Linked DNA regions of Homo sapiens: region 2 is linked to region 1. Evidence: promoter capture Hi-C in human tissues and cell types (Jung and others, 2019). All regions are on one chromosome and are shown on one strand. The core of a region is centred on a gene start or on the middle of the fragment in contact, and the rest is flanking DNA. Distances in the headings are between cores, read along the strand shown. Region 1 holds the start of CDR2L (cerebellar degeneration related protein 2 like). Region 2 overlaps GRB2 (growth factor receptor bound protein 2).

Evidence for each region. Contacts are between HindIII fragments. The study calls those that stand out against the background at their distance.
Region 2: a contact is called between a fragment that was not itself captured here and the fragment with the promoter of CDR2L in region 1, in 1 of the 25 tissues and cell types used here (aorta).

The regions. Positions count from the first base shown.
Region 1 is chr17:74,986,233-74,988,976 of GRCh38, forward strand. CDR2L (cerebellar degeneration related protein 2 like) reads left to right here and starts at 1,400. Exons shown (of 5, transcript NM_014603.3): 1 at 1,400-1,890. The coding sequence starts at 1,812. RefSeq lists an enhancer at 1,238-1,739 and silencers at 1,306-1,385, 1,406-1,495. The HindIII fragment of the contact is 16,458 bases long and covers 1-2,744 here.
Region 2 is chr17:75,375,746-75,378,489 of GRCh38, forward strand. All of the region lies in intron 2 of GRB2 (growth factor receptor bound protein 2), which reads right to left. Among named protein-coding and RNA genes, the nearest start is that of GRB2, 29 kb to the right of the region's middle. The HindIII fragment of the contact is 7,732 bases long and covers 1-2,744 here.

The DNA of each region.
Region 1 (2,744 bases), core at 150-2,649:
CCCACCTCAGCCTCCCAAAGTATCTGGGACTACAGCCGTGTGTCATTATGCCCACCTAATTTTTATTTTTAAATTTTTTTATAGAAATAGGATCTTGCTATGTTGCCCAGGCTGCTCTTGAACTCCAGGCTCAAGTGATCCTCCCAACCTCGGCCTCCCCAGAGTTCTGGGATTATAGGCATGAACCACCACGCCTGGCCTTTTTTTTTTTTTTTTTTTTCCCTAAAGCCACTCTGGTGATTGGGTAGTGATACCTCATTGTGGTTTTCATTTGCATTTTTCTGATGGCTAAAGAAGTTCAGTACCTTGTTGCATATTTATTCAGTTATTTGTGTATCCTTTTTTGTGAATTACCTGGTCAAATCTTTTACCCACTTTTCTACTGGGTTGCGTGCCTTTTTCTTATGACTATGCAGATGTTCTTTCTGTATTCTGGATACAAGTCATTCGTTGGGTATATCACAACATTATTCAGAGATTCTCAACGGCACCAGCACATTAGGGTCCCAATAAAAATGAGTTACGTGAATGCTTGAGTCCGAACACTCTTCTAAGGAAAGAATGCTTGGACAGATGCAAGTGTGTATAGTTTTAATGGGTATAATTGGATATAGGATATGGGTCCCAAGGAAAGGAAAACAGAACCTTGAATGCAGGTAACACACCCTCAAACTTTGCCACTTTCAGCCTGTGGTTTCTAGCCACAAGCACTTAAACACGCAGTTCCCAAAGGCAACTGTAAATTAGTATTCATTCATTCAAAGAATGTCGATGGAAGGTATCAATGACCAGCATGTTGTTTGTTTTTTGTTTGTTTGTTTTTTGAGGCAGAGTCTCCCTCTGTCGCCCAGGCTGGAGTGCAGTGGCGCTATCTTGGCTCACTGCAACCTCTGCCTCCAGGGTTCAAGCGATTCTCCTGCCTCAGCCTCCCGAGTAGGCATGCGCCACCATGCCCAGCTAATTTTTGTATTTTTAATGGAGACGGGGTTTCGCCATGTTGGCCAGGCTGGTCTCGAAACCCCTGACCTCAGGCGATCTGCCCGCCTTGGCCTCCCAAGGTGCTGGAATTACAGGAGTCAGGCATCGCGCCCGACTGGTGAGCAGCCTGTTCTAGGAAGTGAGTAGCCAGCTGTGAAAGAGAAACAATATTCTTGCTTCCAGGAGATCTAGGAGAGACGACAACTTCTAAAATAGCATAATTTTAGACATGAGACATAAACTGAATAGGTCGTAGGGGGAAGTAGGACGAAAGGGTTGATCAAGCAATTCCCAGACCAAGACACCAGGAGGGTCCCGCCCTCGGCCCCGCCTCCAGCTTTGCATACATCTCCTGATTGGTCGGCGGCGGCAGGCCCCACCCCGCGGAGCCGAGCTCCGCAAGCTGCAGGCGGGCTCCGCCAAGATGCAGCGGCGGCTCCGGTTGTCGCCGGGCGGGCCAGGAGCAGCGCGGACCCGAGCCGGGCAGGGGGCGCCCGCCACGGCACCCGCGCGCTCCTAGCGCCCCAGACCCGCCTGCGGGCCCGGATCCTCCTTGCCACTGTCCCACCCGCCGTCCCTGCCACTCCACCCTTTGTGTCGCCGCAGCCCGGTGCCCCCGGCTCTGCGGGACCCCGGCCGGGCCGGACCCTGGCAAAGCGCCAGGCCCCGCGTGGGCTCCCGGCGAGCGGTTGATGGCGAGGGGGCGCGGCGCGGGCTCTGTAGCCCGAGTTCCCGACGCTGGAGGCCCGGCCCGCCTCAGCCGCATTGTCCCGGGCCGCGCGCACCGGCCCTGAGCTGCGCCGCCGCAGCACCCGCCCGCCGCCCGCGGGGCCATGCGGAGAGCCGCCGGGATGGAGGACTTCTCCGCGGAGGAAGAGGAGTCCTGGTACGACCAGCAGGACCTGGAGCAGGGTGAGCGCGGGGGCGACCGGGACAGGAAGGCGGGGAGCGCCCGGTGACCCCTGTCCGCTTCTCCATTGTTGGGCGCTATCACCCCGGGAGGGGCTGGGCTGGACCGGGCGCGCCCGACTCGGAGGAGGGACGCGTCTGGAGAACCGGGACGTGGAGAGAGGGGGCGCTGCCGGAGAAGACGCGGACCGGACGGGCGGAGACCTGCAAAAGTGGGGGGCGGGGGGCGGTCTTCCTATTTTCCCAGACGACCGGGCATCCGTCATCCAGCTCGCCCACCCCGTCCTGGAGGCAGCAACTGCTCGGCCGCCCCTGGTATTGTTACGGGGCCTGAGCGCTAGCTAGGAGTCTTCTGAGGCCGGGAGGCGGCTCCTTCGTCATGTTTTGCTGGGAGGGTGGCTTGTGTGTAGAGGGAAGTTATCTCACGCCAAATCCAGCAGCACCCGTCCCTGACAGGAATTATGAGCTCTAAGACTCCTAGAAAGTTTCCCTAACTCGCTTCCTACTCAGGGAGAAGTGGTACCGCGTCTTTGCTGGTGAAGAAGCAGAAAGTCAAGTCTCCCATCTGCCTTCGAGAGTCAGGAGTCGCTTAGCCCTCCCCTGCCCGGTCCCCTTGCAAATGGCTCATGGTTTGGAGGGGGTCAGGTTCGGGAATCCCGGCCAGTGTGCCAGGCGAGAGACCGAATAAAGAGGGATACATCTCCGCTGCCCCCAGTTGCCATCTGAGGACAGAAAGGGCGACTGGAAGGGGGTTAGAAGCTGGTGATGAGGTGGCCGAAATGACATCACTGGGAGTGGGGGGTGGGGCTGTTGGGACAGAAAGGAAGAGGAGGCCTGCTGGAGTGGAGTCAGTTCTA
Region 2 (2,744 bases), core at 74-2,573, 390 kb after region 1:
CCGGGCGCAGTGGCTCAAGCCTGTAATCCCAACACTTTGGGAGGCAGAGGCAGGTGGATCACGAGGTCAGGAGATCGAGACCATCCTGGCTAACACGGTGAAACCCTGTATCTACTAAAAATACAAAAATTTAGCCGGGCGTGGTGGTGGGCGCCTGTAGTCCCAGCTACTCGGGAGGCTGAGGCAGGAGAATGGCGTGAACCCAGGAGGCAGAGGTTGCAGTGAGCCAAGATTGCGCCACTGCACTCCAGCCTGGGCGACAGAGCAAGACTCCGTCTCAGAAAAAAAAAAAAAAAAAAAAAATTACCGGGGCCTGCATGAGCGCAGTGGCTCACGCCTGTAATCCCAGCACTTTGGGAGGCCAAGGCAGGCGGATTGGCTGAGCTCAGGAGTTTGAGACCAGCCTAGGCAACACGGTTAAACCCCATCTCTATTGAAATACAAGAAATCAGCCAGGCGTGTCGGCATGCGCCTATATAGTCCCAGCTACTTGGGAGGCTGAGGCAGGAGAATTGCTTGAACCTGGGAGGCAGACGTTGCAGTGAGCCGAGATTGTGCCACTGCACTCCAGCCTGGGTGACAGACAGAGACTCTGTCTCAAAAAAAAAAAAAAAAAAAAAAATTTTTTAACCCGACCTGGTGGCATGCTCCTGTAATCCCAGCTACTCAGGAGGCTGAGGCAAGAAAATCTCTTGAATGCGGGAGGTGGAGGCTGCAGTGAGCTGAGACTGCACTGCTGCATTTCAGCCTGGGCAACAGAGGGAGACTCTGTTTCAAAAAAAAAAAAAAAAGATTAGTGAAGCATGAACTTCTACTGATTGTCTTGCACATAGACATTTTTAGCCTGTATAACATAATTTGTAACCAACGATTATAACTTACATATTGTACCATCCAATGAAAAGACAACTCTGGTATGAGGAGGAGTACCCTTCCTTCTTTTAAACTTTCCTAAAAACCTTTCACAGGCCAGGCAAGGTGGCTTACACCTGTAATCTGTAATCCCAGCACTTTGGGAGGCCAAGGTGAGAGGATCCCTTAATCCCAGAAGTTTGAGACAAGCCTGGGCAACATAATGAGACTCCATCCCTACAAAACAAAACAAAACAAACAAACAAACAAAAACTAGTTGGGCATGGTGGTGGATACCTGTAGTTCCAGAGACTAGGGTGGGAGGATCAACTGAGCCTGGAATGTTGGGGCTGTACTGAGCCATGATTGTACCTCTGCACTCCAGCCTGGGTAAGAGAGCCAGACCCTGTCTCAAAAACATAAAGACAGACCTTCATAGCTGGGCCCAGTGACTCACATCTATAATCCGAGCTACTTGGGAGGCTGAGATGGGAGGATCACTCGAGACCAGCCTGGGCAACATAGTGACCCCCCGCTACAAAAAAAAAATATTAAAAGTTACATTTTTAAATATAATACAGGGTGTGGTGGTGCGCATCTGTAGTCCCAGCTACTGAGGAGACTGAGGTGAGATGATCACTTGAGCCCAGGAGTTCGAGGCTGCAATGAACTATGGTGGGGCCACCGTACTCCAGCCTGGGGTGACAGAATGAGACCCCATGTTTATTGCAAACAAAAAGTGGCCAGGCAGAGTGGTTCATGCCTGTAATCCCAACACTTTGGGAGGTCAAGGCAGGAGGACTGCTTGAGGCCATGAGTTCGAGATCAGCCTGGGCAACATGGCGGGATCTTGTTTCTACAAAATACAAAAAGTTAGCTGGGCATGGTGGTGCTCACCTGCTGTCCCAGCTACTCGGGAGGCTGAAGTGGATGAAGTGCTTGAGCCTAGGAAGTTGAGGCTGCACTCCAGCCCAGGCAACAGAGCGAGACCCTGTCTCAGAAAAAAAAAAAAAAAAAAAAAAAAAAAGGCTGGGTGTGGTAGTTCACGCCTGTAATCCCAGTACTTTGGGAGGCTGAGGCAGGTGGATCACTTCAGGTCAAGAGTTAGAGACCAGCCTGGCCAACATGGCAAAACCCTGTCTCTACTAAAAGTACAAAAATTAGCCGGGTATGGTGGCACACGCCTGTAGTCCCAGCTACTAGGGAGGCTGAGGTGGTAGAACTGCTTGAACCCGGGAGGCAGAGGTTGCAGTGAGCCAAGATCATGACACTACACTCTAGCCTGGGCAAGAGAGTAAGACTCTAAAAAAGAAAACAACCCACGAAGAAACAAACAGCAAAACAAAAACATCTTTCACCTTGTGACAGACTTCAGAACAACCCCCAAGTCTGCTGGTGTGTCTTCCCAGGTCGATTCTCATTTGCCAGGCCTTCCAATAAACCTTTATGAAATCATTTCTGCCTCAATAGTCTTAGTTTCAGTTGACAATATAAATCCCAAACCCAGGCCAGGTGCAGTGGCTCACGCCTGTAATTCCAGCACTTTGGGAGGCCGAGGTGGGGGGGAGGATCACCTGCAGTCAGGAGTTCGAGACCAGCCTGACCAACATGGTGAAACACCGTCTCTACTAAAAATACAAAAATGAGCTGAGCGTGGTGGTGGGCAGCTGTAATCCTAGCTACTTGGGAGGCTGAGGCAGGAGAATCACAGGAGGGCGGAGGTTGTAGTGAGCTGAGATCTCGCCACCGCATTTCAGCCTGGGCAACAGAGTGAGACTGTCTCAAAAAACAAACAAACAAACAAACACCCAAACCCAAAAGCAAGTTACACAAGAATAATTTTTCATGTGGTCACCTGAGGATATGCGGGTGAGAGGCATGTCCTTTTTGCC